Linked DNA regions of Homo sapiens: all the other regions are linked to region 1. The links are contacts of gene promoters, found by promoter capture Hi-C in blood cells and fetal thymus (Javierre and others, 2016). All regions are on one chromosome and are shown on one strand. Each heading gives the region's core, a stretch centred on a gene start or on the middle of the fragment in contact. The rest is flanking DNA. Distances are from core to core; before and after follow the strand shown. Region 1 holds the start of FGF18 (fibroblast growth factor 18). Region 2 has its middle 170 kb from the start of FGF18. Region 3 has its middle 140 kb from the start of SMIM23. Region 4 has its middle 170 kb from the start of SMIM23.

Region 1 (2,700 bases), core at 191-2,690:
GAGCGAACCGGGAGCAGGCGGGGAACCAACGAGGGCTGCACCACCTTAGGCGAGGGAGTGCGGAGCGCGGCCCATCCGGGAGCGGCCTCGCGGGCAGCGGCCACTCGGCCTAGGCGCCCTCGAGCTTCCCCTCGTCCCGGGCATGTGTGTGTGTCTGTGTGTGTGTCTCAGTGCTGCAAGCGCCTTCAAAACCACAGAGTAATTTACAACTGAAGCTTTCTCCCTGGACTCGAAATCCACTCGGCTGAAAGTCTTTTTGTTTGGAAGCGGCGATGTTAAGGGAAGGTTGGCAGAGAAAATCCCTAGGTCCTACCCCTCGCTGGCTGCGGGCAGGGGTCTTAGAGCTGGGTATATTGTTGCGGCTGAGCCCGCCGGCTCTGCGGGATCTCCTCCCAGCCGAGGCCGACAGTGGCCGCGACAGCCAGCGCCTCCTCGGGCCCCGCGGCAGAGCCCCTTGCCCTTGGCCGGTTCCCCGCCGGCGCAGGGCGCACGCGGAGCCGCCCTTCCGCGCCCTGGGAACAGGTGCACTGGGCTCAGCGCCCAGGAGGGGTGGGGCACAGGGAGGGGGCGCGGCCGGGGAAGGGGGGTCGGCGTGTACCGCGAGGCAGGGGCGGGAGGAGGTCAAAGTCAGGAGCCCACGTACCTGTACCTGGAAGCACAGCAGCAGGAAGTGTAAACACCTGCGGGAAACAGATGGAGAAGCGGTCAGTGGGACCTGAGGAAGGGGGCGCACGGACAGACAGACACGCAGTCGAAGAGTCAGGTGAACCGACGGGCGGGCAGACAGAGGTACAGGGCACAGGCATACGGACAGACAGCCAGGCAAGGTGGGCAGCCCCGCGCGCGGGCGCTTACAGGCAAGTGCAGGCGGAGGGCGCTGAATACATCGCTGGGCGGGAGGGAGGCGGCGGCTCCTAGCCCAGCCTGCACATGTCCGCTCCGCGCGGCCGGGACCGGGCGCCTCCGCCGCCGCCGCCGCCGCCGCCGCCGCTGCTGCTGCTCCCTCCTCGCCGGCTGCTGCTGCTGCAGACTCTGCTGCTCCGGGGCGCTCCGCGGCGCGCCCTGCGGCATCAGCGCCCCGCGCGGCTCCTCCCGAGCGCTGCGCCCTCCGGGCTGGCGCAGGGGCTGCGGGGCGGCAGCCGCTGTGCAGGAGGCGCCTGGCCGGTGCGGGGAAGCTCGCTCACTGCTGGCCGGCCGGCCGTCCGGGCGTCCGTGGGAGGCTGGCTGCCCGGCTCAGTCCGGGGACAGCATGCGCGGCGGGTCTGGAAGCCGAGTTGCGCTCTCCGGCCCGGGCGCGGAGCTGCGTGGGGCCAGGGGTCAGCGCTCCGGGGTCGGGGCGCGCGGCTGCAGCGCGAAAGCGTCACGGCCGCTCCGTCTGGGCGCCCGCCGGCTCATGTCTCCTCCTCCGCGTCTCTCCGGCCGTGCGCATCGCCGCCTCCCACCACTGGCGGCGGCCGGGGCGTTTTCTACGCGCGGGCGGCGAGGGGGCGGGGGGCCGGGGGCGGGCCCGGGCCCGAGCCGGCACAATGAGGATGCGGGGCCTGGGGGCTCCCCCCTCGGGGCGCGGCCGGACGGGCGCTCAGCTCGCCTGGGTGCGCCCAGCCCACATCAAAGGCGGCCCTGCCTGCTCGCCTGCCTGCCGCGGCCTCTCGCTGCCTCCTCCTCCTTCTCCTGGCGGCTCGGGGTTGGAGGGGAGGCGCTCAGACTCTCGGAGACGGGACCGGCAGCTCCAAAGGGGCAGGACCCGCGAGACTGAAGCTGGTGAGCGCTGGAAGCCGTCGGAGCTCTGCGCCCGAGCGCAGTGACCGCTCCTCCGCGCAAACGTTGCCCAAATTGGGCAGGCGATGCTCCCCAAGAACGCAGTTAGGTACGGAACGTCCTCACCTGCCCACATTCGCTACTCGCACTCACTCACCAGCGCTCTAGTGGAGAGCCGAGAGGGGCGGGTCAAACCCAGCCCCGGGGCGGCTCCACTGAATGGGGGTCGCTTTTACCCGCCCTGCGATCGTGGAGTTTCCCAGCCACCCTCTTGACTGGCTACCCACTTAAGTGAGCCCCCGTCCTCTTCTTACGTCCCTGCCGCTGCGAAGGGGGCTCCCGGGCATCTCTCCTTCCCACCCCTCGCCCCCTCCGGGGCTCTGGGGTCGGTTCACGGGATCCCAGCTGGACTCTCCCGTAGGCGAGCCAGCTTTGGAAACACACGGCTACCACCAAGCGGCCCCGAGACGTCACTGCAACCCCAGCACGGACGGCTGCACGCCGGGGAGCAGCCAGCAGGACTCTGGTCAGCGACCACGCTGAGGCCCTCTTCCGGCCTCCTCCCAAAACCGGACTAAGACTTGCCTCCGTTTGCATACTAGGCAGCTTCGTTCCTTTAACCAGGGCCCCATTCAGGACACTGGTTCTTACCGCCTCTGCCCCTTCCAGAGGCATAACTCCTGTCCTTCCCACCAACCCCAAAACGTAGGTGTTCTTGTCACGTACCTGCCTCACTGTCTAGAGCTGGTGTCAGCCAAGCTCTGCTTGAGCCTGATGCTAAGGAAAATAGGTCACAGTGAGAAAGACGCTGGAGGACAGGCTCAAGCAAAACTCAGGAATCTGGACTATTTGGTTAAAGCCTCCTTGCGTTGGCAATGGTTGATGGTCCACTGGAGCATAAACTGAGGTAGGACTGTCGAACAGTGCTATTTGCTGAAGCCA
Region 2 (2,700 bases), core at 109-2,608, 170 kb before region 1:
ACGGGGTGGCATTTGAATGAGGAAGAGCATTCCACGCCAAGAGAACAGCACCAGCAAAGGCAAGAAGGTGAGCACACGCAGAGCTGGTGGCTAGATGGGCAGCTCTTTAATGGGGCTGCAGCCTAGAGCTACGTGGGAGGACGATTTGAAGATGCTTGAACTCTGCTCCTATGTGCTCATGGCTGAGGGCCTCCACTTCATTTATTCCCCTCCTTGTTCCCCTTTCTAACTTCCCAGCCTTTGATGAAGCTGGATACAGAGACTAAAGTGCAGAGAGGAGCAGATACCAAAGCTTTGAAAAACAGAAAAGCCTTCAAATACTGAAAGCAGACACCACAGACAGCTAGGGTGGGAATGAGTTCATTGGTAGGAGTCAAGCTGTAGTGCCCCGTTGAGGCTCATATTTTGGCTCCATGGGTGGCTCATTATTTTTATTCATTGATCCATTTATTCATTCAATGTTTATTAAGCACCTAGTAGGGACAGTGAGTTATGGGGCCTGCAAAGGCAAAGTCCTAACGCTCCGCTGGTTCACAAAGGTTGGGAAGTCAAGACATGCTTATTAAAAATTTAATTAATACTACAAAGGAACATAGGACAAATCTGGTATAAAGTAGGTGCTCGATAAATACTTTCCAAGTCATGCACAAGGATTTTCATTGCACTATTGTTTATAAAAGCATAAACTAGAAATAACTTAAGCTTCCCTCAATAGGGAAGTGGTTAATAAACTATGACATATCACCACTAAGTGTTTCTCTTTTGCTGAGAGGGTGGATGGGTGGATGGATGGATGGATAGATGGATGAATGGATGGACAGATGAAGGATGGGTATAAATTCAGAAGAGGAGAAGAGAAAAAAGGGAAGTAGGAAGGTTAGAGAAAGTGTCACAGAGAAGGCAATGTGAGAGAAAACGTCTGGCACATCGTACATAGTCAGTAGAAAATGAGTCCCCCCAGGGCATCTAGTAAAATAAACCATTCCTACCCAAAGATCCCCAGGACCATCCTTCTGTGCCTGTGAACACGTCTCCTCCACAGCGCCCTGGCTGCACCCCTGTCTCCTATGGCAGCTGCACTGAAACCTTGCGGATGCCAAACTTTCATGGAGATTTCATGGCAACAATGGGGAGAATGGCCCTCTCCCTCTTTGAGTCCTACAGCAGGGCTTCCTGGGCCCAGTGTATTACAGAACTTCCCATTCTACCCACACAGCCTGCTGCTAGCTTGTTGCTGAACCCAGATATGAAGCCACGGACTTGGGCTGGGGACAAATCCAAGGAGTCATACCTGTGCCCTTCTTGGGACCTCCCAGGTCAGCCCTCTATGCCCAACTCCTTCTTAAGTTCTTATTCTCTCCAGGAAACTCCTCATCGCTCCTGTACGTCATGTCTGGTGGGTCCGTACGCCCAGTTCAGCAGACCTGCTCAAAGGCATGTCTGATTTCCATGCGTATTGAGTCAGTCCTACCCCTACATCCACCTGCTGCCCTGCCACATGCACACGTGTGTGTACACGCATGCTCGCTCGTGTGATTTAATCAGCAAACTGACGTTTGGGGATTGGTGAAAGGAATGGTCCTTAAGATGAAACTCTCCTTGCACTAAGAAGACACCCTAAGCAGCTCCCTCCTACCTCTGCTTCTCACAAAGAAAGGACCGTCTCTTCCCTGTGCAAGCACCCTAACCAGATTCCACAGGGAAGGGGGTTCCTCTGCCTTGTGACTGCCCCTACCCCCCTCTCCACTAACAAAGAGGACAAAGCCAGGCACACCTCCCCTTCCTGTCCACTAAGTACAGGTTTGCTGCCTCCTACATGAGCCTCATCTTACTCAACTATTTGCAGCCTCTGAGCTCAGGGGAGCCATGACAATTCTGAGCTTTGACCTGCCGAAAGATTCTCAACAGACATCAAATTGCTATATTCTCACCTTGACACTGAGAGGTGCCAAAGGGAAGATTTTCATGCCTGTTTCATAAGCGAAGACCCCGAGGCCTTGGCTGTGAAGCTTGTGCCTAAAGACATAGTAGAGACCGTCAGAGTGTGTTCCTGGGGTTACCCGCACCTGCTTATCGCTGAGACTATGAAGACCCACCTCTTAAGGATCGGGGCAGGGCTGGTTTTCTGAAGGCTGAGGATTGTAGTGGAAAGAGCACTGGCTTTGGAGCCAGCTAAGCCTGGGTCCAAATCCTGCCTCTAGCACCAGTTCCTGGGTGGCCATACCCTCACCACCACCACACCCGCAAATATAATACCTGAGAGGGGGCAAGGATGTCATCAGAAAATACCTTAGGGAGCAACTCAAACACCAGGTTAAAAAAAAAAAGCCACACACCTAGATATGTGCAAAAAGCTGTTTTTTTGTGTTAGCATCAGAGATCACATAGTACCCAGAATTCCAAAGGAGAACCATTGCCAGGAAGGCTGTGGGAGCTCCTAGTTTGACCATTAGGACTCAAAAGTTGTAATGAACTATAGGTAACTTGGGGCTACCAAACATTTATTTATCCTCTGTATGAGTACCCTAAATCCCTCAGAGAATCACCACTCCCCCTTTGCATGGAGTCTTGGTGGAAACCCAGGGGCTGGCTAACCATTAAGAAAGCCAACGGACTATATCCTTTATTTTGTAGGCCTGGTATGGTAGGAGGCAAGTATATGACAGCCAGAGGGAACCTCCTTCTAAAACTTTGCATCTT
Region 3 (2,700 bases), core at 182-2,681, 220 kb before region 1:
GAAATCTGGGTTTTTGATGTCAGCAATTAATTCAAAAACTGAAGCCTAGAGGAGGTCGAACAAACCGCTTCCGGTGAATTCAACCTGCTAGGCTTGGGTTTGCAATCTATGGTCTTCTCTTTACCAAACCCTTGATGCTTCTTTCCTTAGGAATCCTCTCACCATCCATTTTCTTACTAGCCCCATCTCACAGATGGGGAAACCAAGGCTCAGGACCACATGCACAGAGCCACCGGGAAGGGATGGGCTGTGTATGATTCAAACTCAGCTCTGTCTGATTCCAAAACCCTGGTCCCTTCTTGGTGGCTGAAGCTGTGGCAGGGCCTGCCCTGGGTTTTCAGGCACGGAGGGTGGACTGGTGCTCTGCAAAGTCCTGCTCATCTCCCCGCCAGCAGCCAGGGCGGAGGATGCCTTTGTGTGAGCTCAGCATCTGGTTGTCAAATGCAGGCTGGCTCGGCTCCATCGTCAGGCTCCATGTGAGAAACGGGCACTTTAAACATTGCAGATGCAGCTGGTTGGGTAGGCAGGCCCTGAGAGAGGCGTCAAGGTTGACATACACCAAGGCAGGTTCAAGATGGGAGGGGACAGTGGGTCCCGCTCTCCCAGTCCCGCCCCACCTCCCCATCTCCCGGCCCTTCTCTCGTCTGTCCTAGTGGGCTGTCTGTCTGTCTGCTTGTCTCTTCTGACTCCTCTTTCCTTCTCTTTCTTTGTCTTCTCCCCTGCCTGTCTCCCAGCTCTCAGCTCTGCCCTCCGGACTCACTCCCTTTCCCTCCCCTTCTTTCTCTGTCTCTCCTCGCCTCCATCTCTTTCACTATTGCTCCTTTTCAAGCCCTCTCTGTCCTTTCCTTTCCCCCTCACAGTTTTCTCTCCTTTTCCCACCCATTATTCTTTCTTCTTTGCCCCCTCTCCCTCCATCTCTCAGAATAACATGCAAAAACCTTTCACTCCTGACTTCCTTCCCACATTCTCACACAAAGAATAAATAAAGAGAATGTCACCAACAAGCATCAACCACTGCGTTTCAATAGACCCTTTGCTCTTAGGAGAGGGACAGACGAATTTCTAAAAAAAAATTTTCTCTCTCTCTCTGACACATTCATGACTTGGCATCCTATAGCAAGTTAAGTATTTTTCCAAACACAGCTAAACTGGTGTGCAGAAAGCTAATGAATTCTGCTAAAAGAAGCTTTCATCTGCAAGTCACTAAAATGTTCTGTTGTTTATTCCCCACCATTTCTTTATTTCTCCACAGTCCTCTCCCCCTACACACACACACATACACACACACAAACACACACACACACACTCATATGCACCCTCCCTCTCACATGCTCACACACATTTCCTTATTGCCATTCCTTTGAAGGGAAAAAAATTCCGGATCCCAAATCTCTGGCAAGGTTCTCTTACAAGATCCTCGGGAAAAGGGCAACTAGTTTTTGCTTAGTGCCTTCTGAATTCCAGGGGACCCCTCAGCCTTGGCTCGGGCCCTCCCAGCACCCCTGCCAGGAGGATAGGCAACCCGTCATACAGATGAATAGCCTGCAGGTCAGAGAGGTGAAGTGACTTGCCTAAGGCCACAAAGACAGGCTAGAGTTGAAAGTCGAGTGTCAAAGCACTCCACATGGCAGTCTGGAAATTCTGCGGGTAATTTCTGAGCGCCAGAAATAAGCTTTTGAAGATCTCCTTTGAGTAAAGCTCATTCATTACTGCACCCAAGAGTATTTCCTCCCCTCTCACAGATAATAGCAACATCAGGAATTTTATCCAAGTTTCATTTACCTCATACCTAGTGTTTCATCTCATCCTTAGCTAACTCTTGGAGACCAGGAGGATGGGGTAGTTTCTACTGCCATTTTGCAGGCAGGTAGACTGAGCCTTGGAAAGGTAAAGTGACTTTTCCAGGGGTCCTCGGTTGATTGGCATGAGGGCAGAGGCTAGAACCCATGTTTCCGTGCCTTACTATGGATGTGGGTATCATCACCTGAGTGGGAGACTATAGAGAGGAGAGGTTTTCAGAGTGACACTGCAGGTAATTTTTTAAAAGTCTAATCTTGTTTTGTCAGTTGCAGACATCATTTATTTGACCTTTGACCCCAGTTTCCACATCCGCCAAATGGAGATAATAATTGCTGCAGGATTCAACGTCAGAAAAGGAAAGAAGTTGGATTTTAAACAATTCTGAATTTAAAAAACAGCAACCATTCCATAGACCCTGTAAGAGACATTACTAGTGCTCACGAATGGCTTGCTTGTCTCTCTGTCCAGGTGCGGGAAAGTCTGCATCTCCAGCCTGCTTGGCTCAGCAGGGCCAGGGGACTTGCTTTGACCAATGGGTGTGAGCAGAAGTTACAAATGTCACTTCAAAAGCATTTAATTGCTGGCTTGAGAACCCCCTCTTTCTCTCTCTTCGTCTTTGGCATTGACTGAGAAGACTTCCTGTTCCAGATGATGATGTAGAAGATGGTGGAATGTCCTTCCACCGGGATTGTGGAGCTGTTGCATAGAGAACAGTTGCCCTGTTCTCTGGCCTAGACCCAGAACACACTCTGCATGGTGAAAATGCAAGCTTTCTGTGAGAGCCACTGAGATTTGGGAGTATCTGTTACTGCAGCATAACCTAACTTACTGCAGTTAATAGTCACTATAATGTGGGCATGTAAGTTAAGGAAGAGTCTCTCAAAATGACTCAAATTAGTT
Region 4 (2,700 bases), core at 151-2,650, 200 kb before region 1:
TCTTAGAGACTAGCGTTTTCCTGGAGCAGTAAGAGGTGAGGTATGATGGGGGTGACATTAGCTGAGCTCTCTTCATTCAAGATCACTGTTGAGGCACTGTTTTACTTAGCCATGGCCCTTCTCTGATTCCAAACCTGATCATCCATCCTCCAACCCACTTCCTGCCCATCCTACTTCCTGTATACTTACCTCTCCTCTGTCTACTCATCTTTCTATCCAGCCATCCAGTCACAGATACAATTCTTAAACAATCTACCCATTTACCCATCCCCTAAAATTTTCAGCCATCCATCCATCCTTCCACTGACTTACTCATTCTCCATCTATTTACTCATTCATTTTATATTTGTCCATCCACCTACCCACTCAGACATCCATCCATTCATCCACTGCTCATCCATCTAACCATCCATTTTTTGAACACCTACCTGTCCAATCATCTGCTCGTCCACCTTCCATCTGTTCATATATCTACCCATCTGCCTATCTGTTTGTTCATCCATTCAGCCAGCCAGCCATATGCTGATCTGTTCATAGACACCAAAATAAAAAAGACCAGGATTCGAATCCTTATGTCACCACATACTACCAGTAGCAGATACTTCATTTTTCTTCCCACATCCTCCCAGTCCTTACCATCTCCATGCACATAGGTCTGAGTTCCAACTACCAGAACCTAAATCTTTTTGCCTGAGGGCTTCCTCTGCAGCTGACCCTTGTCTGTCTCTATGTGTAGAAGGCTGGAGGTGATGGGGCATTAATACCCCTTGGAGGCAGCCCCCAAACAACGGCTAGCCAGAGTTGGTGTATAAATACCCCAGCTTCGTTGTCCTTGGGGGGGATGACTCTGAGGTGGGTGTTCTTTACTGGTGCCTGGAGTTCCCAGCAAGATTAAGCTCCATTTTTCCACAGTTGTCACTTGCTTGATATCATACCACTTTGTTATTTCATCTCCCAAATAAATTACTTGCATTTGCGTCCTTGTTTCAAGGTTGCCTTCTGGAGAACCCAGACTAAGGCACTACATGTGTGACTTGGACAGATTTTTTTTTTTACTGAGACGGAGTCTTGCTCTGTTGCCCAGGCCGGAGTGCAATGGCGCAATACCTGCTCACTGCAACCTCCACCACCCAGGCTCAAGCAATTCTGCCTCAGCCTCCCAAGTAGCTGGGATTACAGGTGCCCACCACCACGGCCAGCTAATTTTCTGTATTTTTAGTAGAGACAGGGTTTCACCATGTTGGCCAGGCTGGTTTTGAACTGCCCTCAAAAGATCTGCCCACCTCAGCCTCCCAAAATGCTGGGATTACATGCTTGAGCCACCGCGCCCAGCCGGACAGAGTATTTAAGTTAGTATGATGCATATCATTGGGTAAGCATTCAACAGAATTCGTTGTTGCTTTTATTATATACTACTATTGACAATAGTAGTAATACATAGGAGATGGCGGAGGTAGTGGTGATAATGCTGGAAGTGGTGATGATGGTGGTGATAGCGGTGATGGACGAGATGGTGGCAGCGGTGGTGGTGAGATGTTTTTGTAGGAGCTTGGCCACTTTCTGGGGTCTTCCTATGGATCTTTGCCAACCTTCTCACTTTGACTCTCCCCTGTGCCCACATTTCGAAGCACACTTTCCTGAGCAGGAACTTGAAGAGGAAGATCGTGAGGGAAAGGGCTGGGGGCTTGAGAAATGGCTCCCAAGTCACAGAGAGGGACAGAAGCAGAGCAGGAGCAGACGCTAAGCTAACAAGGCCTGGGCTTGTCAATAAGAGGTACTTCCATGCTTGCTTTATTTTCCTCTTTAAATCTCTTTCCATCGAGAGCCAGGAAGTGCTTCTCAAATGTTCCTTGTATGAAGAAAACAGTCAAACATTGTCTTCTGAGCTCTTCACTGCCCTGGGATGGCCTGGGCATCAGGGCCTAAGGGCCCTGAGGGGCTCTAAGCTGTGGCCCAGCAGCTGGAGGCCCAGAGAGGGGGAAGAACACCCTAGGGTCACCCAGCATAAGTGAGGCTAAAATGGGATCTCTTGGCTTCTCATTCTTACTTTAGCCAACACATCACAAACTATGACCCCTGAGCCACCCAGAGACAGAGAGGAAAAGAGTGAAAGGACCAGCTGGGCACAAAGACAGAAAAAGACAATAGAATACCAGGCCTCTGAGGTCTTGCAGCTTACGTTTCCCCCCCAACCCACTGGGGCCCTCGAGGAGCTTCCCAGTCCTTTGAGCCAGTTCTGAGTATTCCCCAAGCCCCACCTACCCCGCCCAGGGATCCCAGAATGGGAAGGACTGCAGTTCTTGGGAGACAGACTCTGGGTCTCCAGGGTGGCGTCGTGGCAGGGCCCAGACTCGTGCAGGGCCCCCCCACCCCACCCCAGGGGGTATCAGCCACCATCACATGCTGGGGAGAGCAGACAGGCAGGGGAGGAGTGGCGCCAGGCCCTGGGCTGGCCACTGCAGGAAGACCTGCAGGCACCTGCGGGCACAGCTCCTCACCCCTGCCTCTCTCCTGTGCAGGCCTCATTAACACCCTCCCTGGGGCTGGGGGTGGAGGACAGAGAGAAATAGCTGAGGCAGTGGAAAGAGTCCCAGCTTAGGCTCTTAACTGGTCGTGTGACTTTCACAAACCATCACTTTTCTGTGTCTCCAATTTTTCATCTGTACAACTAGGGTCACAGCACATACAAAACAGAGCCCA

The links. Contacts are between HindIII fragments. The CHiCAGO score rates a contact against its expected background, and 5 or more counts as called.
Region 2: a contact is called between a fragment that was not itself captured here and the fragment with the promoter of FGF18 in region 1, in 1 of 17 cell types (endothelial precursors). The highest score is 5.1, in endothelial precursors.
Region 3: a fragment that was not itself captured here is called in contact with the fragment with the promoter of FGF18 in region 1 in 1 of 17 cell types (endothelial precursors); the score reaches 5.5 in endothelial precursors.
Region 4: a fragment that was not itself captured here is called in contact with the fragment with the promoter of FGF18 in region 1 in 1 of 17 cell types (endothelial precursors); the score reaches 6.9 in endothelial precursors.

Annotation. Positions count from the first base shown.
Region 1 is chr5:171,418,387-171,421,086 of GRCh38, reverse strand. FGF18 (fibroblast growth factor 18) reads right to left here and starts at 1,440. Exons shown (of 5, transcript NM_003862.3): 1 at 856-1,440; 2 at 644-680. The coding sequence starts at 887. RefSeq lists silencers at 934-1,013, 1,074-1,123, 1,264-1,373, 1,494-1,603. The HindIII fragment of the contact is 2,658 bases long and covers 218-2,700 here.
Region 2 is chr5:171,588,378-171,591,077 of GRCh38, reverse strand. No RefSeq gene overlaps it. Among named protein-coding and RNA genes, the nearest start is that of FGF18, 170 kb to the right of the region's middle. The HindIII fragment of the contact is 1,307 bases long and covers 705-2,011 here.
Region 3 is chr5:171,642,472-171,645,171 of GRCh38, reverse strand. No RefSeq gene overlaps it. Among named protein-coding and RNA genes, the nearest start is that of SMIM23, 140 kb to the left of the region's middle. RefSeq lists enhancers at 1-391, 392-893. The HindIII fragment of the contact is 486 bases long and covers 1,189-1,674 here.
Region 4 is chr5:171,619,093-171,621,792 of GRCh38, reverse strand. No RefSeq gene overlaps it. Among named protein-coding and RNA genes, the nearest start is that of SMIM23, 170 kb to the left of the region's middle. RefSeq lists an enhancer at 2,407-2,700. The HindIII fragment of the contact is 5,155 bases long and covers 1-2,700 here.